6 separate regions of the Homo sapiens genome follow, and regions 1, 2, 3, 5 and 6 are each linked to region 4. Evidence: promoter capture Hi-C in 16 types of primary human blood cells and fetal thymus (Javierre and others, 2016). All regions are on one chromosome and are shown on one strand. Each heading gives the region's core, a stretch centred on a gene start or on the middle of the fragment in contact. The rest is flanking DNA. Distances are from core to core; before and after follow the strand shown. Region 1 overlaps PIP4P2 (phosphatidylinositol-4,5-bisphosphate 4-phosphatase 2). Region 2 overlaps PTDSS1 (phosphatidylserine synthase 1). Region 3 holds the start of PIP4P2 (phosphatidylinositol-4,5-bisphosphate 4-phosphatase 2). Region 4 holds the start of RBM12B-AS1 (RBM12B antisense RNA 1). Region 5 overlaps OTUD6B (OTU deubiquitinase 6B). Region 6 overlaps MTERF3 (mitochondrial transcription termination factor 3).

What was found. Contacts are between HindIII fragments. The CHiCAGO score rates a contact against its expected background, and 5 or more counts as called.
Region 1: a contact is called between a fragment that was not itself captured here and the fragment with the promoter of RBM12B-AS1 in region 4, in 1 of 17 cell types (erythroblasts). The highest score is 6.4, in erythroblasts.
Region 2: a contact is called between a fragment that was not itself captured here and the fragment with the promoter of RBM12B-AS1 in region 4, in 1 of 17 cell types (naive B cells). The highest score is 7.6, in naive B cells.
Region 3: a contact is called between the fragment with the promoter of PIP4P2 here and the fragment with the promoter of RBM12B-AS1 in region 4, in 1 of 17 cell types (M0 macrophages). The highest score is 12.1, in M0 macrophages.
Region 5: a contact is called between a fragment that was not itself captured here and the fragment with the promoter of RBM12B-AS1 in region 4, in 1 of 17 cell types (fetal thymus). The highest score is 7.8, in fetal thymus.
Region 6: a fragment that was not itself captured here is called in contact with the fragment with the promoter of RBM12B-AS1 in region 4 in 1 of 17 cell types (naive CD8 T cells); the score reaches 6.7 in naive CD8 T cells.

What each region holds. Positions count from the first base shown.
Region 1 is chr8:91,018,615-91,023,151 of GRCh38, reverse strand. It overlaps PIP4P2 (phosphatidylinositol-4,5-bisphosphate 4-phosphatase 2), which reads left to right. Exons shown (of 7, transcript NM_018710.3): 2 at 1,748-1,896; 3 at 2,889-2,995. Among named protein-coding and RNA genes, the nearest start is that of PIP4P2, 20 kb to the left of the region's middle. The HindIII fragment of the contact is 1,299 bases long and covers 1,854-3,152 here.
Region 2 is chr8:96,264,447-96,269,098 of GRCh38, reverse strand. All of the region lies in intron 1 of PTDSS1 (phosphatidylserine synthase 1), which reads right to left. LOC105375652 (a long non-coding RNA gene) reads left to right here. Exons shown (of 3, transcript XR_928431.3): 2 at 2,762-2,843; 3 at 4,207-4,293. Among named protein-coding and RNA genes, the nearest start is that of PTDSS1, 4.9 kb to the right of the region's middle. RefSeq lists a silencer at 404-698. The HindIII fragment of the contact is 3,019 bases long and covers 1-2,976 here.
Region 3 is chr8:91,037,213-91,042,112 of GRCh38, reverse strand. PIP4P2 (phosphatidylinositol-4,5-bisphosphate 4-phosphatase 2) reads left to right here and starts at 1,254. Exons shown (of 7, transcript NM_018710.3): 1 at 1,254-1,469. The coding sequence starts at 1,364. RefSeq lists a silencer at 1,033-1,232. The HindIII fragment of the contact is 15,293 bases long and covers 1-4,900 here.
Region 4 is chr8:93,738,818-93,743,581 of GRCh38, reverse strand. It overlaps RBM12B-AS1 (RBM12B antisense RNA 1), which reads right to left and starts at 3,471. Exons shown (of 1, transcript NR_027259.1): 1 at 2,763-3,471. It overlaps RBM12B (RNA binding motif protein 12B), which reads left to right and starts at 2,573. Exons shown (of 4, transcript NM_001377960.1): 1 at 2,573-2,701; 2 at 2,886-2,953. It overlaps RBM12B-DT (RBM12B divergent transcript), which reads right to left and starts at 2,499. Exons shown (of 2, transcript NR_183450.1): 1 at 2,123-2,499. RefSeq lists an enhancer at 2,547-2,666. The HindIII fragment of the contact is 1,858 bases long and covers 2,519-4,376 here.
Region 5 is chr8:91,073,614-91,078,238 of GRCh38, reverse strand. OTUD6B (OTU deubiquitinase 6B) reads right to left here. Exons shown (of 7, transcript NM_016023.5): 3 at 4,328-4,408. Among named protein-coding and RNA genes, the nearest start is that of OTUD6B, 5.6 kb to the right of the region's middle. The HindIII fragment of the contact is 6,066 bases long and covers 342-4,625 here.
Region 6 is chr8:96,239,904-96,244,840 of GRCh38, reverse strand. MTERF3 (mitochondrial transcription termination factor 3) reads left to right here. Exons shown (of 8, transcript NM_015942.5): 7 at 761-922. Among named protein-coding and RNA genes, the nearest start is that of UQCRB, 6.8 kb to the right of the region's middle. The HindIII fragment of the contact is 362 bases long and covers 2,294-2,655 here.

The DNA.
Region 1 (4,537 bases), core at 1,254-3,753, 2.7 Mb after region 4:
TGAGGTACATATTCTTTCCCCAAGAATAATGTCTTTATTGAGATCTGACAAAGTAATCTGCAAATTGCAAGACCTTAAGTATATTGTTGACTCATTGTTTCTTTAACATGTTTTTTTCTTCTTGATTAATACATTACAGGTCACTCTGGATCACGCTCAAATTCTTTTCATGGATTTAAAATTATTTTTATAATTTAAGACATGTACAGCTTCTTTTGAATTTCAGTGTTTGGCAGTGTTCTGTTATAAGCCTCCCAGAAACATAAGCATATCGTCATTTCAAAGTGGCCTCTTTCAGAGCCTTGGCTGCTGCAGAAATTTGTCTTATGAATCATTTGAACGAATACCACTTGTTGCTAATCCTTAGCAGTCTGAAAAAAATCCTATATTATAACCCAAGGATCAGGTAGAAATATGTGTATTTTAAACATACCAAAATGTTTTATGCTCTAATTCTTTTTAAAATATCACAAAGTTTAGGACCTAATACAGTGGATAGAAAACCTTTATTTCAAAAATAGCTCTTATTATGCTTAGCTATTGTGATTATATTTTATAGTGTTACAGAAGCCTCTTGAGATACCAGTTCTCTTTCGTGCTTCAATCATATGTTAGAGTGTGGCCCTTTCTAAATGTCCCAAGACAAAACTTTACCTTGGAAAAGTCTTCTATTCCTGTAGTTGAGATAGTTACAGAAAGGGGTTAGGCAGTCTCCTTTAGAAATCCCATTCCAGAGTAGTATATCAGGATTCCTTTTCTCAGACTTTTGTAACAAATATACACTTCTGGTAGATACTTGATTTTGAAAGTGGGCCTCCACCCTTCACTCACTCACTGAGTCAACCTTAGGACTCTCAAAAAAAACACTGTGTGTGTGTCTTTGTATTATGGGAATTTTCAAACATACACAAAAGTAGTGTGAAACTATGACCTTCCATGTCATTATATTCATCAGTTATCAACATTTTGCTACTTGTTTCATCTGGTTCCCCATTCTTTTTGTGGTGGTTGTTGTTATGGTTTTTGAAGTTTTTAATCCCACATACTACATTTTTTTACTCATAAACACTTTGGTGCATTTCTTACATTTTTAATGGTAGGTAAATTTTGAGACTAAAAATTGTTATATTTACTTTATTTTTGTTTTGTGTCTGAAATTAGCATGGTTCCCATTTTTGTTCCATGCTGAGAAGTTTAGTTTTCTTAGGTTCATTTTTGTTTCTTCTTGACTTCCTCCAACACCTTGTTTTATTCTTGTCATAGCCAGCAGTCATTATACTGGTTCCAATATAAAGACAGAGCATGACAGCTACATAATTTATATGTATGGATAAGCAATTTTAAAACTTTGCTTTCATCGACCATTTTTATTTCCTGGGAATCAGATCACTTGTGTAAAATTTTTATTGTAGGCATAAATTACCACTCTCCTGTTAGAGACTGTATGAATTTACTAATAGGAATGGAGTGACATTTTGAGTATAGATTAGTAAAAGGAAACTGGGTTATTGGGATAGACCTAGGCAAACATGATTTAGATTTTATCAGAGTTAAGAATTATTTTACTTGATAAGAGTCTCATGGATGTTTGTGCTCTAAAAGTAAGATAAATTGGCTAGCTTTGAAAAATAAATAAAAGAACGTGGGAAAATCTTGATTGTTTCTTCTTTACTTATATTGCCTCTATACTCAAACCAGCCATAGTAATTTCTCCAAGACTCTGATTCAGTGACTAATATCTTTTCAGCGGAGCTCCCACCTCCATATACAGCCATTGCCAGTCCAGACGCCAGTGGTATTCCAGTAATAAACTGCCGTGTGTGCCAATCACTAATCAATTTGGATGGCAAGCTTCACCAGCATGTGGTTAAGTGCACAGTTTGCAATGAAGCTACGGTAAGTGGAGATTTCCATTAGAAAAAATATAAATTGTTATTTGACATTTTATTCCTAAAGGAAGTACTTCAATAATGTTACTTAAAAGTATATGTGGGCTGGATACAAATATGGTAATCTTTTTTCCTGTCTTTTCTTCTGTCTCTCTTTCATCATAGGATACCTCACTGTGTTTAAAGCTAACCCCATTAAGAGAATTTCATGGTGAATTTAAATATAATGCCTTTTGGCTTTTTACTTTCAAAAACTAGACTGAGCATGGCAGTTACGTATAAATACTTTCAATATCTATCCACATCACAACTACATTCATTCTTGTTTTCATTAAAATGAAAATATTGTGTACTAAACTTCATTACAGATGTAAACTTTGCCCTATTTATGTGGAAAATTATTTGAAGTTATTTTATGTCTGTAGGATGTCACTATTGTTTTTCTGGGCTTTTGTGATTATGCATTTATTATTAGCATCTGTGCCAAAGTGTTTACAAATAGTTTGACATTTTATTCAATTTAGTTGATAGTAATTTAGGAATGTTTAAAATATTGAATAACACCTTTCCTTTTTTAAAAATTGAGCTTTGGGGAGCAACTAAATTTTCAGCAGTATTTTTATAGCTTCAAGTAATAAACTGGTAAAGCATACACTGGTTTAGATGAAATATATTTCTTTCATAGTTAGGCTTTATATATTACATTTTGATCTCTCAAAATCTGCAATTAAATATTAATTTTATCTTTGATGTTTTATTTTTTTCTCTTTAGAAAAGACTAAAAAAAGTCAGCCAGTGATTATTGTGTCTTGAAGGACCACAAAACATGAATACTTGACTTCATATGTTTTATAGAAAAATCATAAAATAAAACCTTAAGTTACAAAAGCAATATATTTCATTAGTTTTAATGGAATCCTTTCCTTTTTAAACACAAACAAACTTTGACAATCTGTACTTTGGTTAATTGCTGTGTTTGCATTTTCTTCCCTTATCCAGCCAATCAAAAACCCCCCAACAGGCAAGAAATATGTTAGATGCCCTTGTAATTGTCTTCTCATTTGTAAGGACACATCTCGGCGAATAGGATGCCCAAGACCCAACTGGTAAGAGATAAAGATTAATTCATTGATTCATTCATTTGTTCATTCAACAAGTATTTACTAAAGGTTCTTCAGTGCCAGGCTTTGTTCTAGAAAGAGTTTTTGTTTTCAAAGTCATTCCAGAATCTAGATTATTTTTTTGTTAAAGGAATGATAAGCTTAGTTTGAACTTAGTCATAGATATTTGTAGGATATAATATTCTTAAATGAGCAATGAATGTTTTCTTTGTGTTATGTAAGTACTTAATGCACTGTAATAAATCAATGACACATTGAACGTATTTAAAAATAATGAGGTCAGGCCAGTGGTTCATGCCTGTATTCCTAGCAATTTGGGAGGCTGAGGTGGGAGGATTGCCTGAAGCTGGTAGTTTGAGACCAAACTGAGCAACATAGTGAGACCCCATCTCTACAAAAAATTAGCCAGGTGTGACAGCATGCACCTATATTCCCAGTTACTTGGGAGACTGAGGCAGGAGTATCATTTGGGCCTAGGGATTAAAGCCTTCAATGAGCTATGACTGTGCCTCTGCACTCCAGCCTGGGCAACAGAGTGAGACCCCATCTGTTAGTCTCTCTCTTTTTTTTTTTTTTTGAGACAGAGTCTCAACGGGAAGAGTCTCAAAAGAGTTGGCTCACTGTGACCTCTACCTTCTGCCCTGAAAGCCTTCCCACTATAGCCTCCTCCTGAGTAGCTGGGACTACAAGCACACACCACCACTCCCAGGTAATATATTTTTTTTTTTTTTTTTTTTTTTTTTTTTGTAGAGACAGGGTTTCACCATATTGCCCGGGCTGTCTTGAACTCCTGGGTTCAAGTGATCCCAAAGTGCTGGGATTACAGGCATGAGCCACCATGCCTGGCCCATCTCTTAAAAAAAAAAAAGTAATCACTTAGTTTACTTTTGATATAATTAATCTTCACCTGCAAGTGTTTTAGTTATTTTTGTGTATCTCACTGTATATTATACTAATCTCTGCTGAATGTATATGTGCAATAAATTCTGGAATTATTCGCTCATGCCCAGTACCATTATGGATGTCCCCAGATACAAGTATATAAAGGCCTTACTTGTGTTTTTTTTCTGTGATCTCTCTAGCTTTTTGACCATTACATGAATCATGTACAGCCCTATCCAATGATAGACTAGAGAATAGAAATGAAAGCAGGATCCTGTTTGCTTTCTTTTCATCTCTGATTAAATACGCATCAAGGAATATCACACTGCTCAGAGAAATTTGGTTGTAACCCAGCCCTTCGGTGCCTTCATGGCACAGAGATTTTTGTTGGTATAGAATATTTTTAACTTAGTCTTCTACCAAACTCAAGTTGGCTTCCTAGATAAGGAAGGGTAACAACTGTTTTCTGATTTGAACTTACAAAAACTTGGAAATGACAGTTAAATGGTTGCCATTGATTAGGACCAATGCTATAATATATTGTTTCTATCCCAAGTACAGACTCATATTTTGCTTTTGAAAAACTGACTGTTGCTACTCTTTGTAGTTTTGCCTCCAGCTTGACATTTAATTCACTTAATTTAT
Region 2 (4,652 bases), core at 218-2,717, 2.5 Mb before region 4:
TGCTCCAGCATAGCACTGACCACATATTGTGAAAATACCAAATGTACAGATTAAAATAAGAAAGCTCCCCAGGGCACAAGTCCCACCTCATTTCCCCAAGGTAGCTCTAGTGCCTGGCACAATGCCCTGACACACAGCAGGCATCCACCTGCCATAGTAGGTGGCAAGAATGAGCAAGATGATATGACAGAGTAGGCCAGTGACTCAGGTAACGTGAGGGGGGAGTCTCAGCCTGACCCACAGGGTCCACTGGCAGCGACTTCCCTCTCCCCTTGCAGAGTGTTGGCTACAGAGGGCTATTGAGACCATCAGCAAATATCTAAAATCCCAATCAAGTTTTCAAACACCTTGGCTTCTTCTGCAGAGCATTGTTTCAGCTAGGATAGGGAACTACCCAAAGAGACAAAGTCTTAACAGCAGGAAGTATCAGGAAAGCCCTGAGTTTAAAAAAAAAAAAAAAAAAAGTTTGCACTCCAAAGAATTTCTGGACTCTGACTCCGATTCTGTCTCAATTTAATATTTGAGTACAGGAATTTGACCAGAGGGGTGGTAACTTCAGGAAACCAAAGCAAAGTCCATTCACTTGCCTACAATCTTTTAGACAAGTCTTTCTCCCTGGGGTCAGGCAGCCAGGAATATCTAACCTTTATTATGATTCCTAAGGCTTCTAGGTTAATTGTCCCTCTCCCCCTCCCATCTTCTCCCTCATTACTTTTAATATGAGTCCTTAAATAAAGACCTATAGGTTCATGTTTAGATGAGTCACTGTTTAAGGATCATCTCTCCCAATAAAAAGTTTAATCCCAGGTTACATGGTAGACCAATGTTAAGTAGCTTAGGTATTATCTTTAATACCACATTCATCTATTTTATAGAAAGTTATGATCCTTGTTAAGAATTATGGGTGAGACATCAACTAAAGGAAAAGAATGGTGATAAATTTTAAGTTCTTATTGAATAAATGATTTCATGCATTCCATTCATTCAGCATTTACTGGATGTCTATCCTGGGATGACTCAGATAACTGGCCTCAAGAAGCTGATACAGAAACTAATATTATGACATGTTAGATACAATAATAACAAGTATTTGGAAGGATATAAACATTTCTTCCTCTGTGCTTCTTGGAACAATTGAGAAAGGTATCTTGGAAGGGAACCATCCAAATGGATTGTGAAGGATGCCAAGGGTGGTGTCATGTGTGGGCAGGAGGTGGCGGGAGGTGCCTTCCAGTCTGAGAGATGGCAGCCCTGCCTAGGTATGGGACACGTGAGCTGCCGGGGCCTGCTGGGTGTTGGGTGTTGGGTGTGCTGTGTATGGAGGGAGGGATAGAGGTGGGAAAGTAGACTTACTCCATTACAAAGGACGCTGGAGTCCAGCTAGTACTTTCCTATAGGTGACAGGCATCTACTGAAATACCGATGTCAACCAGCTTTGGTGTTATCTTTCATACCATACTAATTTCGTTTTATGGAAAGTCACAATCCTTGTGAAGAATTACAGCTAAGTTATCAAGTAAAGCAGGAGAAAGGTGATATGTTTTAAAGTATTTATTAGATAAACGAGAATTTTAAACAGGGAAAGATGGGACCATGATTTTGTCTAAAAAGATCACAGGGGCAGCACTGGAGGGAGGGGAAGCCAGGGCCTGAGAGTCAGCTATCCCAAAGGGTTGGGAGTTTGCTGAGCAAAGGCTTGGGAACGGAAAGAGAACAGTCCCGAAAGCTATAAAGGCCCAATCAGACCTGCTGAAGATAAATGAGATGGTGAACTCCAGGTTGGGAGAAACCTGGGCTAGAGGCAATGAGGACTATGAACTGTTGAATTGAATTAATTGAATTAAATGGGATGCCAGGGCTGAGGAAGCAGTGCAGGCTGACCGGACTAGTCCTCGTTCTGGGATTAGTTAAGACTGAAAAACTGTAACTTCTCTACAGAAATCTGGGGCAATAGGAATTATGTCACAAGATAAATTGTGTTACATCTGGTAATAGAACTACATCTAAAATGCTAAACACAGTTTATTCAGAACAGATGAACTTGAATTAAGGTTGCTTACTAAAGAGGAGTCTGAAAGGCAGCAGTTCCTAGGTATATAATCTCTGTGGGCTGAGGCATCATCTAAGCCAAATAAATATTTAAGTCACCCAAGTGCCCATTCACTGCAGTAGACCCCAGAGAAATATATGGCACATTTCCCCCTTTAACAAATTAGAAATCGTATTATGGACATAAAACTCTGGAAATCAGTATAAGAAAAAATGTAAAACATTAAGTTCAATAAAAAATTTGATTCAAATGGTAACCAGGGAAAAGAAATGTTAACAATCATTGATAACTGGACCTCAGGTGCAACCTAACACAATGTTCACCTCCAGGGCTGGTTTAATCCTAGCCCATAATCACTATAGATGAGCATTTAACATTGCTAGTGTCAGCCAACAAGGGCATGCAGGGCTTTTGTTGCTGGGAGAGAAGGAACATGATGTATATAAAGGAAACAGGATAAAGACAACTGAATCAGCAGTATCAGGGGACATTTTCTAATGGGAATTTATGTGGTCAAGAGGGAAAGAACAGGGAATGCTAGCAAGTATCCATAAGCAATATAATACAGGTGGCCACAAGTATGCCCCAATGATATGACGGTGAACTGGAGTTCCAAAGCCAATAAGGGAAATTAAGTAAAAACCATTATTAACAAATCAATCAGTCAATCAATCAGTCTGTCCATTTCCCTGTCCTTGCCTGTCTCCTTAGTTCTAAATCGAGGAGAAATGAAGCATAGACAAATTGATGATCACTTAAGTACACAAATCCGCAGAAAGGCAACGTCTTCTAGGTAAGTAACAATTTTTGTTGGACAAGTGCTAACAAAGGCTGATTCTACTGTTTAATGGCAGGTGCCTCTTAAGGAGAGGTGGGCTTCTTTGAATGTGAATTAATAGATTCTGGTGTTTTCTAAATCTAAAGCTTGAGTTTTTTAAACTAAAGGCATTCAATATTTCCAAGTTTACCAACCCCTGAATGCAGAGTAAATATGAGGGTATCTTATAGGTAATTATTATACTCTGAGCTTGAGACAAAAGTTTTCCTTGCCCTACTTTGCTAACAAACTTCTAAGACATATGCGTAAGCATTTATTTATAAAAATACTATTTATTTTTTAATAGAGATGGGGTCTTGCTATGTTAGCCAGGTTGGTCTTGGACTCTTGGCCTCAAGCAATCCTCCCACCTTGGCTTCCCAAAGTGCTAGGATTACCGGCGTAAGCCATTGCACCCAGCCTACTTATTCTAAAATGTGGGAAAATAAGTTTTTGGTTTTCTTTTGAGACAGGGTCTCATTCTGTCGAGTGAGTAGGGTGGAGGCTGGAGTATGGTGGCGTGATTCAGCTCACTGCAACCTCTGCCTCCTAGGCTCAGGTGATCGTCTTACTTCAGCCTCCAGGTGCATGCCACCACGCCCAGCTAATTTTTGTTTTGTTTTGTTTTGTTTTGTTTTGTTTTGTTTGTTTGTAGAGATAGGGTTACACCATGTTGTCCAGGCTGGAAATGAGCTTTTTCAAATAGGAAAATGATTAGGTAGTATCTAACTTTATTTTTAATGATGGTGATAAAGACAGGAGATATTTAAATACTATGGTTTAACAGGGAATTGACCTAAGGGCCATCTAACAAAAGAACTACTTGACAAATCCAAACTTGTCTCAGACTTCAGTGCAAGGTATCTAATCCTCTGTAATTTTAAATTCTTGCTGGATCTCTGAAGCATGTGACAGTACCCAAGTACTGTTTCTCACATACTGGTTATATGACATCCCAAAAGAATCCTATCTCCTCGTTCTCTTAGACAACTAGTCTTTGCAAAACAAACTTTAAGACATATCTTTTAAGTTTTACTGAAAGAATTGCACTGAACAATTGTCCAACTAAAATCTTATAAAATAAATAATAAGGCACTGGAGTTAATCATTACAAAAGAACATAGGATACATTTTCATTTAAGAAGTCGTTACTTTCCGTCTTTATGGAGGAATATAGAGCTATCATTGTAATGCCCCACTTAAGTCACAAATCATTACAAAAAATGAGTAAGATTTAGTAAGTACGAATTCTATTAATGGTGCTTATGATTTTATATAAAGTGAAACTTGTTATTAATTAGTTCTTCATTATGTGATTTCTGTCTCTTTATGAAATTAGTGGAAGAAATAAAATTGTTAACATTTTTGGATGAGACTACAGTCTGAAGTTCAGATTATGGTTCTTCTATTATTTTGGACAAGCTGTTAAAATTCGTATTCATTTCTTATACTTTCACTGCTGCAATTTATTGACTGCCTTGACAGAATATGATGTAAAAGGAAATTTCAGAAGATTGTGACTTTTTATATCAGAAAAGAGGAAGAGAAACCTATTTTGAAAGGACCTAGAATAATATTAAAAATGAAAGGCTGAAACAAATGGCTCATTCTTGCTTCTCATTATTTAAAACAAAATACCATAATTATTTTTCTAATTTCCAGAGAAACTCCCTCACTAATTTCATTATTTCAAGCCCACACCTAAGATGAAGTTAAACTGAAGTTAACATCAAACAGGTATGTATGTTATCTAATGTCCATTTTTCCAGTGCTTTTATCCTTCTC
Region 3 (4,900 bases), core at 5-2,504, 2.7 Mb after region 4:
AGCAGGGTCTTGCCATGTTGAAGAAGAGATTAGGCTCAATTCTGAATGCAGCATGGACAAGTGGGAATTTATAGCCTAGGAGCATGCAGGACAGGGGCAGTAGATGGAAAATTACCAAGGAAATATCAGGGATAAGGGGGATTCTGACTAAACCAAGCAAACGGGATTCTTGCTGAAGACAGAACAGGAGTTCAGGCCTCACATGGGGGATGCTGGAGGATGAGGAACCTGATCAAATATCAATATTGAGAATGGGGCTTCTTGCTAAATTAAGTTAGTAGGGTTCTTTGCTAAAACTGGATTTTATAAGGAAGTGCAGATGGGCCCAGCATAAGATTCAGAAACCTTACTTGTTTGACCAAGCAAAGAATCTTTGTCAGTGCTTAGGGTTTTTTGTGTTTTAACTCTGTTTTACAAGTAAACGATTATTTTAAAACTTTTGTCTCAAGAAACTTGTTTTTCGTTGTTTGACGTTATTCATAAACCTACTTACTGTATATGTGTCAGGGACAATAGGCTACAAAACCAAAACTAAGATGACAACCTATTTTGTAAAATGAAACTTGTAAAAGGCAACACACTGCATAGTTCCAAAAAGGTACTGTTACCAGAGTTCCAAACCGGTCAGGCCAACATTCCTGTTGTTAAAAAAAATCAATCAGGAAAAGTAGGGAATGCTGACACTTCCGCAAAGATCTACTTTCTCTTAGATAACAGATGTTGAAAACTGATTTCCCACAAAAAAACCCTAGAGGAATTGATAACCCCAGGAAGATGTTTTCTTTATATAACTGCTGCAAAGTTTGACAGCAAAGAGTCAGTCCCTCCTCCTCCTTAGGGGAGATAAACTTGATAATCTGCTTTTGCTCCAGTTTTCTTGTAATCAAGTCACAGGCCTTTCCTCTTCGCTAGCCCCTTTCAGGCTGCTTTTTATCCGTCTTTCCTAGAGCAAAGGACTTGTCCCCCTCCATCCCATTTACTCTCGACCCCCTTTCAGTTACTTGGCATCTTCTTTTCCTCGCGTTTCCCAGTTGGTCCTAATTTGTTCCCCTTTTCTCTGGCTGGCTGGGCTCCCGCTCCTCCACTGCTGCTCCTCCCACTCTGCGGGTTCTTTCTTTCTCCCTCCCCTCCCCTCCCCCAGCCATGCCTCCCAGCGCGCTTCCCTTCCCCCGCCTCCTGGTCCTGCACCCTCCCCTCCCCTCCCCCCGCTTCCTGCCTTGTGACACATCCCGGGCCCTCCCGGAGGCGGCAGCAGCAGCAGCTGCAGCGGCAGCAGCGGCAGCAGAGGCAGCAGCAGTAGCCACCACTCCGCCGAGGCCGCAACCCCGGCTCGGCCTCCCCAGGCCCCGCCGCTGCCGCAGTCATGGCTGCTGATGGGGTGGACGAACGCTCGCCTCTGCTGTCAGCATCCCACTCCGGAAATGTCACTCCCACCGCCCCACCGTACTTGCAAGAAAGCAGCCCCAGAGGTAAGGCCAGCGTAGATCCCTCTACTTTGCAAGGAAGTAGATTTGCAAGGAAACGCCCAGAAGGATAAAGACCTGGGAGCTCTAGCTTGGAGGTGGAGGTGAGCCTCTCGCTTGGGCTGAGGAAGGATGCTGACTGTGCCTTCCCAGGCAAGCCCGCCTGCCTGATAGCTTCTCCGCAGGGTTTTTCTGGTGGTGGTGGTGATGGTGGTGGTGGTGGTGGTGGTGATGGTGGTGGTGGTGGTGGTGGTGATGGTGTGTGTGTGTATTTCACCACTTCTTACCCAGGGCTACAGTATGTGACATGAATTTCCCAAGCTCTGCTTAGCTGTTTTCAGAACAGCCCCTAAGCGCAGCTAGGAGGTGGTGCAAATCTTTCACAATCATTCACAAATCTTTTTCCGTTGCTGAGAAACCAGGAGTATTGCTCACCTTGGCATCTGTCCTTGAAAGGGCTTTAGCTTGAACAATATGCTTCTGCTACCATTCACCCAACAGTGCTCTGTTCACTCAGTGAATTGCCATATCCAAAATGAATACAGTTAATCAATATTCCTAATATGTCTGAAATTCCTGCCCCTCCTTTTTACTCCTACTTTCAAGGAGTATGTGTTAGATTTAATTGTGAATGAGAAGGAAGGACCTTACTTCTCATAGAAGGGAAGATGGGATATTTTTAACACATATCTGGGTGAGATTGAAATTAACTTGTAAAAAGTAACCCAAATTAATAATACATATATTTCTATTTTTTTCTCAAGAAGAATAAAAAAAGATTAAATGCAATGGGATCTGGAGAAATATGGAATCTATTTACCATACTATTCGATTTATTTAAAAATCGATCGTTGTTCTAAGCCTTTTAGTTGATTACTATAGTAAATAAATAAGGTGGAGTCAGGCGTTACAAGAAAATGGAAGGCAAGACTTAAAAAAACCCACTTAGGTTAGTGAAAAGATTGGTCAAAATGGCACTTGCAAATGTTCCTTAAGTGCATCTCTCTCTTTTTTTGGCTAAATATGAGCAAAGTTTAAAAACCCAAGGAAGCAAAAGTTAATGATTTTGAAAATATAAGTAGGTAATGTTTCTTGTAATACAAGTTTTTAAGTTCAAGTCTGGAATTAGAGCTGATGTAGAGCAGGTTGAACTTGCTTAGTATTTAAAATTTCTATTTAACATTTTGTAACTTCAAAATAAACTATCTAGATCTTAATCCATACTTAACAAGAAGAAAAACAAAGGAAAAAGATGCTTAGCTGTAAATAATTCAGTGTGAGCCATGGCTTGAGAAATAAGGCACAGAGAGAGACTTGCCCACAGAAAACCTACAGGTCATTTTTGTTGGTCAGCATTAAACTTGTATCAGAGGACACCAGGCAAGAGAATTTCCTCTAATGGGCCAATTTGATATGAATATTTTACTGTTATCTAAATCGTATTATGTAGAATAGACTTAAACACTCACTAATGAATGTTTCAACTTCATCAAGTCAGCCTTTTATGGCAAAATGTTTGGCGGTTTATTAGGAGACAAAGTTTCAATTTAAGTATTTGTCCTATAACCTATTTTCATGCCCTCAACTAGTGGATAAGTTATTTTTTAAAAATGGCTACACTCAGGGATCAGCTTATAGACATCTTTATTATTTTCCATATATTTGTTTAACCTAATAAGATTCCTCAAACTACACAAGTATAAGTTCCAGTTCAGCCACTGAGAAAAAGTAGTGTCATTGTAGAAAACTTTTAACAACCAGAGAAATTCAATGACTTAGCAAAAAGCTGCTTCTGCCTTATGGTAGAATACATTTTTTCTTAATTGGTGAATGAGACAGGTTAGATGATTAGAGAAACTCTTAATTTCATATGACATAACACCTACTAAGGAAGAAGCATAAATGAGAGGTAAAAGCATTTTATTTGCATTTTGACAGAATATTTTTCTTCATAAGTAACAAACATTGTAATAAATATTATGAGTAATACACAAGATCTGGAAGACCACCACTATTCATTCATTTATTAATTTATTGGGAAGCACAATGTGCCATACACTGCTCTAGGGGAACAAGAGTGATCAATCCCATACCCTCATGAAGACTATATTGTATTAGGGAGAAAGAATAAATAAATACATGGCTGAATTATTTCAGATTGTAAAAAAAATTCTATCACTAGATCAGATGTTTTTGGTAGTTGAAAACCGTTAGGGTTGACAGTTGGAATTCAATCAGAAACAGAATGCACTTTCTGATAATGAATTTTAGTTAATGATCCCATTTACAATTATTCAGACTTTTATTTTTTTAAAAAAAGAAGTTAAAAGCTATAACTAGTGAATATTTTCTCCAATCTGACCCCTTTCTCTTTCTTTTACCTTCTAAAGTACAGGAATGTTAGTTCCCACCTCCAAGATGAAATAGTCCATTTCAGGTTGAAAGTCGGTGGAGTGTTTATTTCTAGACAGATTATTAATAATGTAGCAGGGAGCAGTTAGTATTGTGTGTTTGGTTTTAGCACAAGAAAAATCATGTGTGGTCTGTGTAACAATCCATGTTGGTTTCTAAGTGGAGCATGTCTAGTGTTCTCTACTGTCAGTATTGGATTCATGCATAGGAAATTGCTTCTCTCCTGCTTGCAGTGCTTCGTTTAATATACTTGCCAGTTTTTGTTTAGGTATAGAAATTAAAATTAAAGAGAGTTTTAGGCTCATCTGAAAGGAGATTGGAAGAAATACCACAAAATTTACACAGTTTTGATGTATTAATTGATTCCTTTATACATCTGCTAATTTTGTAGTTAGGATATAACAAAAGAATATGACCTTTGAATTTATAAGATTTTTTCTGTGAAAATTGTTTATATCTGGGGTTGTCTCATTATGTATTCAATATGGAAATGGGATTATATACTTCACTATAATTCATAAAGGGAAAATAATAATTTGTTATACAGAGGCAGACAGTTTGATTTACTTAGTTTATTATTCAGCAAATAAATATTTGAGTACCAGCCAAATCTGTGGTAGGAGAAGAAAAATAGTCATGGCTCCTCTTCCAGTGTAGTGGGGGTATTGAGAAATAAATTATGTAATCACACAAACAGATGCAAAATGCAATGGTGATGAAGACAGTGCTGGAAATATATGCAATACCTTGAGAGTATAAATTAAGATTTAATTTTGTTGAGGGAGTCGGGGAAGGCTTTCTTGATGCTTGAATGAGATCTGAAAGTTGAGCAAGAGTTAACTTGGCAAAAGGTGGACTGGAAGACCATTATAGGCAAAGAAAGCAGTATTGGCAAAGTGATCAGCAGGGTGGAGTATGACAAATACAAGGAACTTAAGGAAGGCCAACGTGGCTAAAATGGAAACAGCAGTAGGAAATGCACTGCAAAATGGGACTGGAGAGATAGGTATGGTGGATATTCTCCG
Region 4 (4,764 bases), core at 2,222-4,721:
GGCGAAACCTTGTCTCTACTGAAAATACAGAAAAAATTAGCCAGGCATGGTGGCATATGCCTGTAATCCCATCTACTCAGGAGGCTGAGGCATGAGAATCCTTGGAACCCAGGAGGCAGAGGTTGCAGTGAGCCAGGATTGTAACCATTGTACTCCAGCCTGGGTGACAGAGTGAGACTCTGTCTCAAAAAAACCCAAAATGGAGAGACATTCAATATAGTGTCCTCGCTGGAGAAAGACTGTGTGAATAGAAGGAGGATGGTCAGCCCAGAACAATGAAGGAGGCCATGGGAGGCTGGAAACGCCTGTCAGAGCTTGCTCAGGGGACAGAGTCTGACCTGAGCACACTTGGCCAGGTGAGTCCTCCAGTAAGTGGTCATTAAATGATGACTGTTACTTTTGTTAAGATGAGTGAGGATGTCTCCAGGGAGCCTTAACTGAGAATCACCTTTTGAGATTAGGTAACTCATGTTCTATTTCTTAGAGCATTGCTTCTGTATTCTTGTTTAAAGGAGTCCGCTTCCGAGGACAGAGTCCTCTTTCTGTGCAATACAGAGTAATGGCTTCTGCAGGCAAACAAGCAACGTTCAATTTTGCCTGGCTTTTGTAATCCTCTATGCCTCAGTTTCCCTTATCTGTAAAATACGAATAATAATAGTACCTACCTCCAAAAGTAGTTGTAAGAATAAATTGAGATAATGTATACGTCCTGGCACATAATAAATTCTCAATAAATGTTAACTTTTTTTTTTTTTTTTTTGAGACGGAGCTTTGCTCTTGTCGCCCAGGCTGGCGTGCTGTGGCACGGTCTCGGCTCACTGCAACCTCCTCCTCCCAGGTTCAAGTGATTCCTCTGCCTCCGCCTCCTGAGTAGCTGGGATTATAGGTGCCCGCCACCACACCCAGCTAATTTTTGTAATTTTAGTAGAGACAGGGTTTCACCATGTTGGCCAGGCTGGTCTCGAACTCCTGCACTCAGGTGATTCGATCACCTCGGCCTCCCAAAATGCTAGGATTACATGCGTGAGTCACCATGCCCGGCCAATAAACGTTAACTTTTAAGGTCCTGTTCCTGAGACTGCAAGGCCAGGACCAAACTATGGATTATCAAGGTAAATGATATCTAGTCAATGAGCCTACCTCCTCAGAGTGACATCCTCTGCTTCTGTATAGATCACCTTGACATTTCAAACAAGTCACAAATACTTATAATAGTCTCACTTATTTACATATATCTGAGACATACATATTTACTGAATGTTTCCCACAACCCTAAGAGGTAGGTACTAGGAGTATCCCCATTTTACAGATGAAGAAACTGAGGCACAGAGGGGCTAAATAATTTGTCCAGTGAGTAAAAGATGGCTCTGATTTTGTGTTAACTATCTTTTTATTTACTTATTAAACTACCTCTTCTTTCTTATAATCATATCATTAAAGAATGGGTATTTTGCAGTGAGAAAGGGATCCACAACTCACTTTTTCTGTCATCTGTAACAATGTTTTTAAAATGTACTTTCTGCTTAATGAGCTTTGAATCCATCCACAAATACATCAAGTAGCTATACAACGTGGTGGGAAACTTTGTTATTTGCAAATGATAAAACCAAACACAAGGTTGTTCACCAGCTATTACGTAGCAGGCATCACAGAGTACACCTGTAATAGTGCTTTTCCATTACTGAAATTTCAGTACTGGCTCATCTGTTCTCTTGTTTCAAAAATCCAGAAGATGGGAACAAATTTATAAAGACACTTCACAAGGTTATTTATATCTATAAAACCGACTAAGCATGCATTTATTAAGCCCCCAGGTGTTGGGATTGTACTTGGCGAACATCTAAGGCAGTAAAATTACCTTTTCTGTGGTATTCTAGGGTCTACAGGAGCTTTTTTATTTTTGTTTTGAGATGGAGTTTCACTCTTTTGACCTGGCTGGAGTGCAGCGGTGCGATCTCGGCTCACTACAGCCTCCATCTCTCGGGTTCAAGCGATTCTCCTGCCTCAGCCTCCCGAGTAGCTGGGATTACAGGCGCCCGCCACCATGCCAGGCTGACTTTTTTGTATTTTTAGTAGAGACGGGGGTTTCGCTTTTTGGGCGGGCTGGTCTCGAACTACTGACCTCAAGTGATTCGCCCGCTTCGGCCTCCCAAAGTGCTGGGATTACAGACGTGAGCCACCGTGCCCGGCCACAGGAGCTTTTTAGAAGATGTTTTACGCCACACAGTAATGCAACACTGAAAAGACAAGTCGCCTTTTCTCTGCTTTTGCATCTCTTTCCTTAACTTCTGGAAATCTTTAAAGTTTGTCCGCCGTACTTCGACAGTTGTCTACCGAAGATTCTCAGCACATCTACCGGCTGAGCCCTGAATGTGTCTCTGAATTTCTCCCGTTGAAAGTCGAGGTCCCTGGGCTGGGCAGAATCTGGGCATGCGCAGAAGCTCAGCCAACCCCGGGGCTCCGCCTCCCCTCCTCTAGCGAGGGGAAACGGGTGAGCGGCAGCGCGCGTGCGCAAGCTTGGTGGTGGGTTGCGCCTGCAGAGCGCATGGGCAGATAAACCGTACGTCCGTTTGTCCGGACCGGAGGGGCAGTGGGCGCCATCTTCTTCTGGGCTCACTGAGGGTCTACCTGTTTTGGGGAGGCTGCTGCGACGAAGAGTTCCCTCAGCCTCCGGCCTTGTGTGTCCGACTCGGCAGCAGTGGTGTGTGTTTATTGCCAAGTGCGAAGCAGTTCCCCTCGGGGCGCCGGGGGTGGGGAGGGCTGGGCGACCAAGCCGGAAGAACGGGGAAAGGCGGGACCGGCGGCCGCGCCAGTATCTAGCGTAGCTCCTGCCGTTAGGGCACCCTCTTTTCTTGCTAAAACACCGACTCTTCCTTTCCCGTCAGCTTCCATGTGGTGGTGTATGTGCGCTTCCCAGGGATCTTGAGAGTGAAGATCTCGAAGGATTTCATAGGTATATTTTTTTCTTTGCTATGTCATCGTAGTCAGTGGTGGCAGAAAAGCGCTGCAGGCCCAGCTCGTTAGGCTTGAGAAGGGCAAGTGTTTTCAGTTAGATCTGGGGGCAGTTCACCCTCTGGCGAGTTAGGGTGGAATGTTTGCCCTTGAGACGGCGTAACGGAAAGGCACGGAGGTTGGGCGGTCCAGGTTAATTTGAAGGCTGATTTTGGCTGAAAGTCTGGCGACAACATCGGATCCCACGTAGCAACTTTGGCCTGGCGCGAAAGAAGGAAGCTCTGACCCCTGGGAGTTGTGGACAAAGGCTTTGGGCTGTAGAATCGATGCCTTCGGATGATTCCCGTTTGAGGATGTTGGGAGAAATCCTGTGCCATGTGGATTCGTCTTCATTTACAGTTCTTCCTAGGGACTGTGGCTCTCATTGGTCATTCCTTTGGTTTTTATTTTAAACATCTACATTATAAAAGGTGGATCATCGTAAAGAATAATTATGGGTTGGTGTAGATTATTTTCTGCAGGGGAAACTCACGTTTAGAGTGTGAATATGCTACATCATGACCTTGGGCTTTACGAAGTAGTCGCAGAGTTAAAAAAAATTCTCTCCCTCACCATATCTGGAAAATGACTTTTTCTTCGCTAGTTAAAAATCAAATGGATCTGATGAGATATTACTTATTTAAATTCTGTCTCCCTCCCGTTTCCCTCTCTGTATCCCCTTAAGTCTTGATTAGAAGAGGCACGTTACGTATTGTTTAGTTATAATGGTGATTAAGTGGGATGAATCGTTGGATAAAAATAGCAGTTATTTAAAATGCGCTTTAAATTTCACTGACTTAAGTGATCTTTTAGGGACCCACTCTTCTTTTCATAGAAATTTTAACAGATTATTGTCTTCAAATGAACACAAAGGCACAAAAATACTTTTTGCATTCATAACTAGAAAAACGCAAAATTTTAATTGCAGACTACTTGAGGGTAATTTTCGTGTTTTGCTTTTGTGTAATTTAGTGTGTTAAGAGTTGAATTTCTGGAGAATTTGCTTAAGGAAATATAGCATGTTGGAACCACAGAAGTGCCCATTTTGAGAGCTGGTCTCTTACAGTTGGTCTCCAAGGTGTGTTATTGTAGAGGCATAAATGGTACATTACCCTACTGTCTCAAGGGTAGAGAAGTTTAAGCATTAGTTTTGTTTAACTGTGGCAAATGAGAATAAACTTTCTAAATAGTCTGCTTGAATTGGAATTCATGAGATTTGTGCTCATGAAACTACTTGGTTAAAAGATAGTTTTTAAGTGAGGTAGGATAAATTACTAGAGTTTTTTTGAATTTGAGATATAATTATTCCTTGAAACGTCTCTAATTTCTCTTGTAGATGAATTTATGTTCCCAGGGTAAATCCCGTTAAAATTTTTTTAAAAGCTTAGGAGAGACAAGAATATGTATAGCTTATGGTGCTTTCTAAAATATCTTAAAAAGAGTAGCTAAGCCAATTTGCATAGGAGGGAGTCTTGGGACTTTAATATGGATAAAGTAAGTATTCCAGAAGCCATTTGTAGTTTTTGTTGAAGTGTTAGTATGGATATTGGTTTGTTGAAGAAAATAGGCTTTTTTTCTTTTTTTGTTACTGTGCAAATACTTTAATAGCAAACCTGATTAATATTTTTCAGATGTAGAATGTGTGAAGTAATTTGATGTCTTTGCTAGTTTAGCTTCTGGTTAATCTACGTACCCTTTTTTAAAGGAAAACAGACCTCAGTGAATGTATCTTCAGACCCCCACTTTGGGGAACAGTGGTACTTAAGTGTAAGT
Region 5 (4,625 bases), core at 2,125-4,624, 2.7 Mb after region 4:
CACAAACACTATCACATTGATCATCTCAAGAATTTTCTACAAGGTGAGCTCCTTACTCTCTTACTCATCTGTGTGTTTCCAGCACCTTGCTCTATACTGGACATTAAGAAAGCCCTCTAATTTTTCTTTAAAGTCTACTTAAAGGCTACATGCCAAGTTTCTAAAAACCTTACTTACTGATTTCAAAGTATTCTCTTAAGACTGAGTTATCCTAGGCCTTAAAGCACATTATTATTATATTAAAGCCCAGGCTAATCCAGGCTTCTTATCAGTCCACCAGTAACGTGTTAATATGACACAGCCTTTAAAAGGGTACAGGCAGACACCCTTTTTATCAAGCTTTTTAAAATGTCTGTATACACATACATTTAATTAACAAATATTTTGTAAAAAAAAAATTAAAATATAAGAGAGAGACTCAAGCTCCCCATAACACCACTGCCATCCCAGTGCTTGCTCTAGAGGTTTGGTATGCATCCTTCTAGATTGTTTTTCCATTCATTTTAATAAATATGGTATACTCTTGAAAATATGTATAAATTCTTAATAAAAATGGTATCATATGTTACATTCTACAATTTGCTTTCCTTATGCAAATGTCTGATAAGCTCCTCCCATGGAAACATATGCAAGGATGGAGTGGGGTGACGGAAATGAGAGATTTGTGACATGAAGAATAGACAGGAGGTGTATAGGGAAGGTTGGGGAAGAAGAAAGGAAAAAAAATTCCTAACAGATGGACTAGTAATGATCAAAAGCCAGAAAGCACTATATGTTTCATAGCTAAAAACAGTTCCTAGAGCTACAGTGCCAGAGAAAACTGTCAAGAGATGAAATTGGAGGCAAAAAGCATAGGCATATAATTAATATACAGTAGGTCTATACTTAACATAGGACTAAAAAGAAACTACAATATACACAAAGTATTTATAGTGCTTTTTTCTGGATGACGGGATTCCAAAATAAGTTTTATTTTGGGGTGTGTGTATGTGTATGTGTGTGTATGTCTGTATGTTTTTCTGCATCTTTCTAATTCTCTATCATATATTTTGTTTGTACACTCAAGCGGAAACTGCTTTATAATTTAAGAATAAAAACTAAGTTATATAAATTTTGACATTAATAAGTTACAGTGAAGGATTTGGTAAGCCAAGAATAGGAAAAGGTAAAGACTTCCATAACACTAGCTCTGATTTCTCCTTGGAACAAAAGTGAATGGGAAGGCAAGTTTCAATTAAACTTATTGTCATGTACCTGTACTACTTGCCTGTTATGTGCCATGCTAGATGAACCTAAAGTGATTTCTAAGTTACCTGAATCAAAAGCAGTAATATCTCCCTAATAAAACATAGCCTATTTAAGGTTTGTATAAGTAATAGGAACAAATTTATTTCACTGTGTACCTAGAACTGTGGATCACAGAGGCATAATATCTTAAAACACAAGATGGCACTATTACTTTATAAAAGACTAAAAAAGTTTCAGAGGGGAAAGGAAGAATAAGCACCTTAGATATCATCTAATCCAAAACCCCTCATTTTCCTCTTCTGAGGAAACAGCACGCAGAAAGATTTCCAAAGGCCATACAGCTGGTAAGAGCAGAGCAGGGACCAAGGACAACACAGAGAGCTCCTTCTATCCAGGCACCTGAATCAGAATAAAAGTTGGAGCAGATGGGAGCTGGAGTTAATGATGTCATGTACTATTTACTGAAAGAGTGGCACTTTATCTTATCTGCAAAACTGTTTAAGCCTCTAAAATACTAATTCTAATCATTTCATTTTTTTCCCTTCATGCTTTGCTTCATTAGAACAAAGCAATTGAGTTTCCTTTTCAGGGCACTAGGTAAGAAATCCACTGAATTCTTTTTCCAGCAATATATAGTTTCCCAAGAGCACTAGGCACTTTGGTTTCTACAGCTATAGTAGTGGAGATAGAATGGCACTAATAAGTTCTAATAAAAACGTATAAAAGATGAAAATAGCATGTAAATCATAAATATATTGTCAATAAAACTACAGTCATGTTGATATAGTAATATAACAAAGAAGATTCAAAGGGAATATTAAGAGCTGGACACCAGTCCTGGGTTTGTATCAAACTTTTAGTGTACAATTGAGATAACTTGGGTCTCTGCTTTCTCATTGGAAAATACAGAAATTGAATTCAATCTCATTCCAGCCCTCAAATTCCATATTTTTGAAACCCAGCTCTTCTAAGTTCTATTTTAGACTCTTTCTCTCATATCAAAAAGTTTGTAAGTTCTTTGAATAAAATACTGTTTTTCTAGACTAAAAATAAGAGATATGCTCTACAATATTCCACGATATTCTTAAAATAAATCTTGACAAAGTTTTATCACGTTTTTCTTCCAGAGTTGTATCCTTCCCAAAGATAAACATCATTAATTAAATGACTTTGCATTCCTTGGTGCTTCTAGCAAAAAGGAGGTTCCAAATAATCTAACACCCGATTGTGCATCCTGACTTCAGGTTCCATTTTCTTAAGCATTATAAACGTTTAATGTTTTCTGTTCTAAAATCCCATTAATATAACCCTGTAAAAACATTACTTGGGCATTTTTTCTACCAAGTGTTAAAGCAGCTGACTATAAAAGATACTAAATGGTTTGAGAGTATAACTGACAAAAGTATTAATTCCAGTTGTGCAGTATCTTAGGGAAAAAGTAACAAAATTTTTGAGAAAGGTAAGGGAGTTTTCGTTTTGTTTGTTTTGTTGTTAGAGGTCCAGCTGGGGAGGAACAAGTTTTGATAAAGATAGGAAGAACTTGTGCCCTTAGGTTTTCCAGAATTAAATAGGCTATTATAAGATGTTTCAATTACTAAGTAGACGTAATTCCAATGTTTTGTTATGCTACTGGCATGCAAAAATTCTGCCCTTCCTTTTTGATCTATAGAAGCTAGACAATTGTGAGATCATCACAAAAGAATGCATATCCTAAGCAGACAATCTCCAAGATTCCATGAGATCTAAATTTTATGAATCTACAAAATTCACAATTATATTTACTCAAAAATAAAATTCTACACAAGAATGAGAAATGTTGGACTATGTGCATTTCATCAGCTTGCAAACAAAAAAAGACATTGCTTTTAGGTTTAATTTTTTAAGAGGCATAGTATGCACTACTTAACACAGAAAAAGACATTGCTTTTAGGTTACATTTTTAAGAGGCATACTATACACTACTTAATATAGAAACAATACTATCATTTGTTGACCCATTAGTTCTCCAGGCCTTGTGTTAAAGGCTTTGGAAATAGTACAGTATTTAATATTCACAATGAATTAGCTTATGAAGTAGCTATAATTTGCCCCCGTTTTATAGATGTGAAACTGAGGCTTAAAGAAGAACCGTACCCAAAGTATAACAGTAAATGAAATTAAAACCTCATCTGTTTGACACTAAACTCCATGCTCTACTAAATTACATACTATGTCATAAGATGCAAAATGAATTTAAAAATATGCATTTAAACCATAGAAAACATCAAGTGTTAATAAAATAATACTCGCAACTAAAAAGACTGAATTTAATCATTTTTCTTTTTCAAATTCAAAGGGACTTACCTATCTAATCTCATTTCCATAATGCTGATATGAACTAGCTACTTCCAATAAATCAGTTTCCTTATAGCTCTTCAATAATGCAATATATCACCCCCACATTTGTTTTTGTGCATGCTGCTCCTCCTATTTGGAATATCCTATCTAAATAATATTTCTTTCAAATTCCAACCCATTATTAGCATAATGAACTTTCCCTTCTCTAAATTTTCATAATTAACCATTATATAGATACCTACATAATTCTCTAAGAATTTTGTATACCTACACATGTTAACTTCTAGGTTCAAATCCTTATTTCTCACCCAATGGTATAGTTCTTGGCTAGGGTTGTGCATCAGAATCCCCTGGGCCCACATTCTGAATTTTTAAGTCTGGGATAATATATTTGTAAAAAAAACTACTTTGCACTCCCACTCCCAGCTTCGCTCTCCTATGAGAGCTGCAACCTGAATACGTTATTTTATATTATCTTAGGATCATTTTCTTCTCCATAAAATGGGGATAAGAAATCCTACTTCACAGGATTATTGTCAGGACTAAATGAGATGTCATATAAGCAGCTTAGCATAGTATGTGACACACAGCAGGTGCTTAATAAATGTTAGTTCAAGTGCCTAGACAAGGAACTGCATCATTTTTTTTTCATTCTCTTCCTATAACAAGACCTAAGATAGTACCTAAGATAGTATTGAACACACAGCACTAACTTATATACTTGGTGACATGACTTTCATACCCGTCTCTTTTGTGCTTTTGATATCCGAGGTGGCTGATTCTCAAGCACCAAGTTTGAAATGTTAACAGCAACAGAATCTATCTGAAGGAAACAAAAAGCATTAACAAGTCAATGTACTTATTAAATTACTGAAAATCATAAATATATCTAATCCCACATTTCAAATTTGAGTAACAGCAATAGACACTGTATTAGATAATATGGTTTTGTCTCCTGTTTCTATTTTTATGGAAGAATTTGACAAGTTCCCAAGAAGTTTCTTTCAAAGATCATGCTCATCCCTGCATGCTTTCCTTCC
Region 6 (4,937 bases), core at 1,225-3,724, 2.5 Mb before region 4:
CATGACCATCATGGTGTAGCTCTTTCTCAGCAGAGGGGTTTGAAATTCTGGTGACCCCAGGAGCCGGAAGCTGTAATTCCTTGAAGGCACTGGCATAGCTGTCTCCAAATTTTAAAATGTTATTTTAAGTTTAAAAGAATCATGGTCAGGCGTGGTGGCTCATGCCTGTAACCCTGGCATGGGAGGCCGAGGTGGGCAGATCACTTGAGGTCAGGAGTTTGAGACCAGCCTGGCCAACATGGTGAAACCTCATCTCTACTAAAAATACAAAAATTAGCCAGGCATGGTGGTGGGCACCTGTAATCCCAGCTACTTAGAAGGCTGAGGCAGGAGAATCACTTGAATCCAAGAAACGGAGGTTGCAGTAAGCTGAGATCGTGCCACCGCACTCCAGCCTGGATGACAAAGCGAGACTCCGTCTCAAAAAAAAAAATCATGGCCAGGCGCGGTGGCTCACACCTGTAAGCACTTCGGGAGGCCAAGGTGGGTGGATCACTTGAGGTCAGGAGTTCAAGATCAGCCTGGCCAACATGGTGAAACCCTGGCTGTACTAAAAATACAAGAATTAGCCAGGTGTGGTGGCATTCCTCTGTAGTTCCAGTTACTTGGGAGACTGAGGCAGGAGATCATGCCACTGCACTCCATCCTGGGCAACATAGCGAGCTCCATCTCAAAAAAAAAAAAAATCAGTGCAGCCTTGCCATGGTACCAAAATAACTATTTCTACATAACGATTCATAGCAAATTTACTTTCTTTTAGGTTTATCGTCTTGAACTTGGTTTTAAACATAACGAAATTCAACATATGATCACCAGAATCCCAAAGATGTTAACTGCAAATAAAATGAAACTTACCGAGACGTTTGATTTTGTGCACAATGTGATGAGCATTCCCCACCACATCATTGTCAAGTTCCCACAGGTAATGCCACTCACAGCTCTCTCTGTAAGCGCTGCCATTGCGCTTCATTTGGAGCTGCTCTCCAGCTGCATAGTTCTGTACGCTGGGAAGAGTTTACAATTTGCAGGGCGCAAATGTCCATCTCCTGAGGAGAAATCAGTGATTAGTCTCTTTCCCTGGAGTTTCTACCTAGTCCTAGTTCTGATTGTTGGAATCAGGCCAACAAATCTAATGTAGTCTCTCTTCTCTCTCATGTTTTTCTCTACTTTACTTTGGAATAGATCACTTCCCTTAAAGGTCCTTTCACTGCTACGTGTACTTTTTAGTCACAGTTTATTTAAATTCATGAATCAATAAGCCATATTGTAATGATCCCCATCCCAATATAAAAGTGATCCAGTTTGCCATCATGCCAAAGCCGTAATTATATTTTCTAAGCTAATCAAGCTTCCATATTCTTTACCTAGTGAGTGATATTATCTGCTGTTCACAAGAATATTAATCTTGAATATTGACTCTTTAAAAGCAGAAACTTTGTCTGATTTATACACTGCCAAATCCTCAGTGCCTAGAACTACACCTGGCACTAAGTAGGCACACAATTAATATTTGTTGAACAAATGAATGATTGGATTTTATCAAAGTAATCCTTTTTTCCTATTTCCTATGCAAATAGCCACTCAGTATTTATTGGATAAATGACAAACTGAATTTTTATTTAAGTGATCCCTCTACTCCATTTGCTAGAACACATGTTCCTGTTTTTGAAAAAAGATGGGTAAAAGAAATATGACCTTAATACAACTCTCAGAACTAGACTGCATTAGGTCCAGTTCCTTCACATACAGCTATATTTATTTGCCTATTATACTTCACTAGGAACGGGCCTCTAATATAGGATTTTCCTATTTTACCAAACGTAAATATACCCATTATAGAAGTGTTAGAAGCCTACAGTTTTGTGAATTTGGCTCATGGAGTAATTGTGAAATAATCTTCAACGAAAAAGAAATGACAATTTGTTTTTCCCTGGGTTGGTGGGTAATTCATTTTTCCAGTATATCACTGAGCATCCATCAGTGCTACACATTGGGCACTGAGGATACAAAAGTCAAGCAGACATGATCTCTGTTCTTGTGGAACTTATAATCGAGTGTGGAAGACAGGTTTAAAAATAGAATTGCTTTATATGATGGTAGAGTCCTAACCAGAGCTCCTACAGTGATTTAGAAGCGGTAGGAGAATTATAGAAGTAATAACAGCAATTGAGTACTTACTGTGTGCCAGCTCTATCTTTATTGCTTTATTTGTATTAACACAGTTAATTCTCACAACAACCATATGAGGTAGATGCTATTATTACCCCTATTTTACACATAAAGAACTTAAGCTTAAAGAGATTTAAGTAACCTGTCCAAGGTTACCCAAGTAACAAGGTTGGGGCAGAACCACGATTAGAACTCCAACAGTCCAGTTTAAAAACCCAAGCCCTTTACTAGGATCTGCTAGAAGTACATTTGAATTGTCTGTAGAAGAGGGAGTGGTGTTTAAAAGATGGAGAGGAGCTTTCCAAATAGAAGAAATTATAAGCTGACCAGATGCATCAAAATCACTTAAAAACACAGATTTTAGGCACCCCAAACCCTTGCCTCAGAGAAGCTCTGTTGTAGAATTGTGGCTTCCAAATTGGGATTCTCAGATTCCTAGAGTCTAGGTGGAATTATTGGGGAATAAAAACAGAAAAATAAAAAGCTTATTAATGAAAAAATACATTAACGGACAGTAAGGCTGTGAATGGGCTGATATAGACTTTACATTTTTGGCTGGTGTTTAAATCTCAGTGGCATGGAACTAATTTTCTCATGTAGATAATATTCCTGGTTGGCAGATCTGACTTACGATTAATTAAAAATGGGGAAAGAAGTATAACTTAATAACTATGATCAATTTAGTCATTTCAAAGAAGAGATCTTGGAAGGTAAAGGATAACAAAAGCAGTTTTAGGGTAATGAATGTGAAGAAATCACTAGGCTAAGGAAAGAGGTTATATTCAGGATCCCCCGAAACCTTCACTCTCCCCTTCCTCTGTGACTTTCTGTGAAGGCAAAGTTGAAGTCCACCTTAGGATTAGAGGGAACCAATAATTCTCAGGCTAGGGGCACTTTTTTTAACTCCGAAGAATTTAATATGTCATTAATAGGATGAAATTTTTGTGCCAATGGCAAAGTAGCCCCTGGTGGCCAACAACTCTCCCCCCACACCACCACATCCATAAAAAAAGAAGGGAGAAACACCGCAATCTGAGCAGTAGCTTTTGGACTTGAAAGAGTACACAACTCTCTAATGATGGAGTAACTTTGGTCCACTGGAGAAGTAAACGTATAATATCTGCTCATAAGCTAAATAAATGCTTTGAAGTGTTATTATATTTAGGAAATTAGTAATCGTTTAGGAGCACCAGAACCATTTGTGGTTTTGTCTGTTGTTGGGTGATAGTTTTTTTTTGTTTTTTGTTTTTTTTGTTTTTTTTTGCGATGGAGTCTGGCTCTGTCGCCAGGCTGGAGTGCAGTGGCGTGATCTCGGCTCAGTGCAACCGCCGCCTCCCGGGTTCAAGTGATTCTTCTGACTCAGCCTCCTGAGTAGCTGGGACTACAAGCGCCTGCCACCATGCCCAGCTAATTTTTGTGTTTTTAGTAGAGACGAGGTTTCACCATGTTGGCCAGGATGGTCTCAAACTCTTGACTTCGTGATCCGCCCACCTTGGCCTCCCAAAGTGCTGGGATTACAGGTGTGAGCCACCGCGCCCGGCCGGGTGATAGTTTTTTAAGCCAAGAATCACTGCATAGGAGTCATACTTCTAAAAAAAAATCTATCTAAAACCTCTTACATCTTCGTTATCCATAATATTGTGATCATGGGAATTTAGTTATCAGAACAAGGGCAGAATAGCAGAGACTGAGAAGGGAGATGTTCTGTTCCAAAAGCAAGCCAAACCCATGTTGAGGTACACCCTGTGCTTTTTTTAGTCACTCTTCTCATAGTACTTTGGTTTTCAACAATTGCTTTTCATAGTGTCCTTTCCAACTGATCTGTTACTGTTTCCACTTGAATATAGGGAAAGAGGCCTAGGGGTTATGTGAACGCATCCCGTGTTCACATTATATCTGTAACAGCCAAGAGGAGAGCTTGAGGCAGGCATAATATTGAAAGGGCTTCCTCTGAGCCTCATCGGGGAACCTCACAGGTCTCTCAGGCTTCAGGGCTGTAGCTCAAGTCTGGCCGGATCTCCCATTTGTCTCTTCTTTCTGTAGCTGGCTGTAGAGCCTTGCCTGCTTCTGACTCCTTTCTAAAGTTGCTGCCGCTTACTCTAGTTTTTAGGAGTTTTACTTTGAGGCAGGTAAGACATACTTTCCCTAGTTGCTCTCCCAGAGGTCAGATTCATTTCATTTTGATTCTAGTTAAGGGGAGGAGTGCAAATTTTAAAAAAGGGAGAGAGAGAGGTGTTACAGATTATGAAATCTTATACATTTTTATATAATAACATCTTAATCTCTAACATTGGTTCTCAAACTTGGTAGATATCAGAATCATCTAGAGGGCTTGTTAAGACAGATTTCTGGGTTCTGCTCTCAAAGTTGCTGATTAAGTAGTTTTGGGGTGAGGCTTGAGGATTTGCCTTTTTTTTTTTTTTTGAGATGGAGTCTTACTCTGTTGCCCAGGCTGGAGTGCAGTGGCGCGATCTCGGCTCACTGCAACCTCCGTCTCCTGGGTTCAACCAATTCTCCTGCCTCAGCCTCCTGAGTAGCTGGGATTACAGGCATGCGCCACCACGCCCAGCTAATTTTTGTATGTTTAGTAGAGACAGGGTTTTGCCATGTTGGCCAGGCTTGTCTTGAATTCCTGACCTCAGATGATCCGCCTGCCTCAGCCTCACTAAAGGCGTGAGCCACCACGCCCGGCCGAAGATTTGCTTTTTTAACACATTCTCCTCTGTCTCTGGAGCACTCAATCTTCTTTGCACACAGTATAGCCCTGA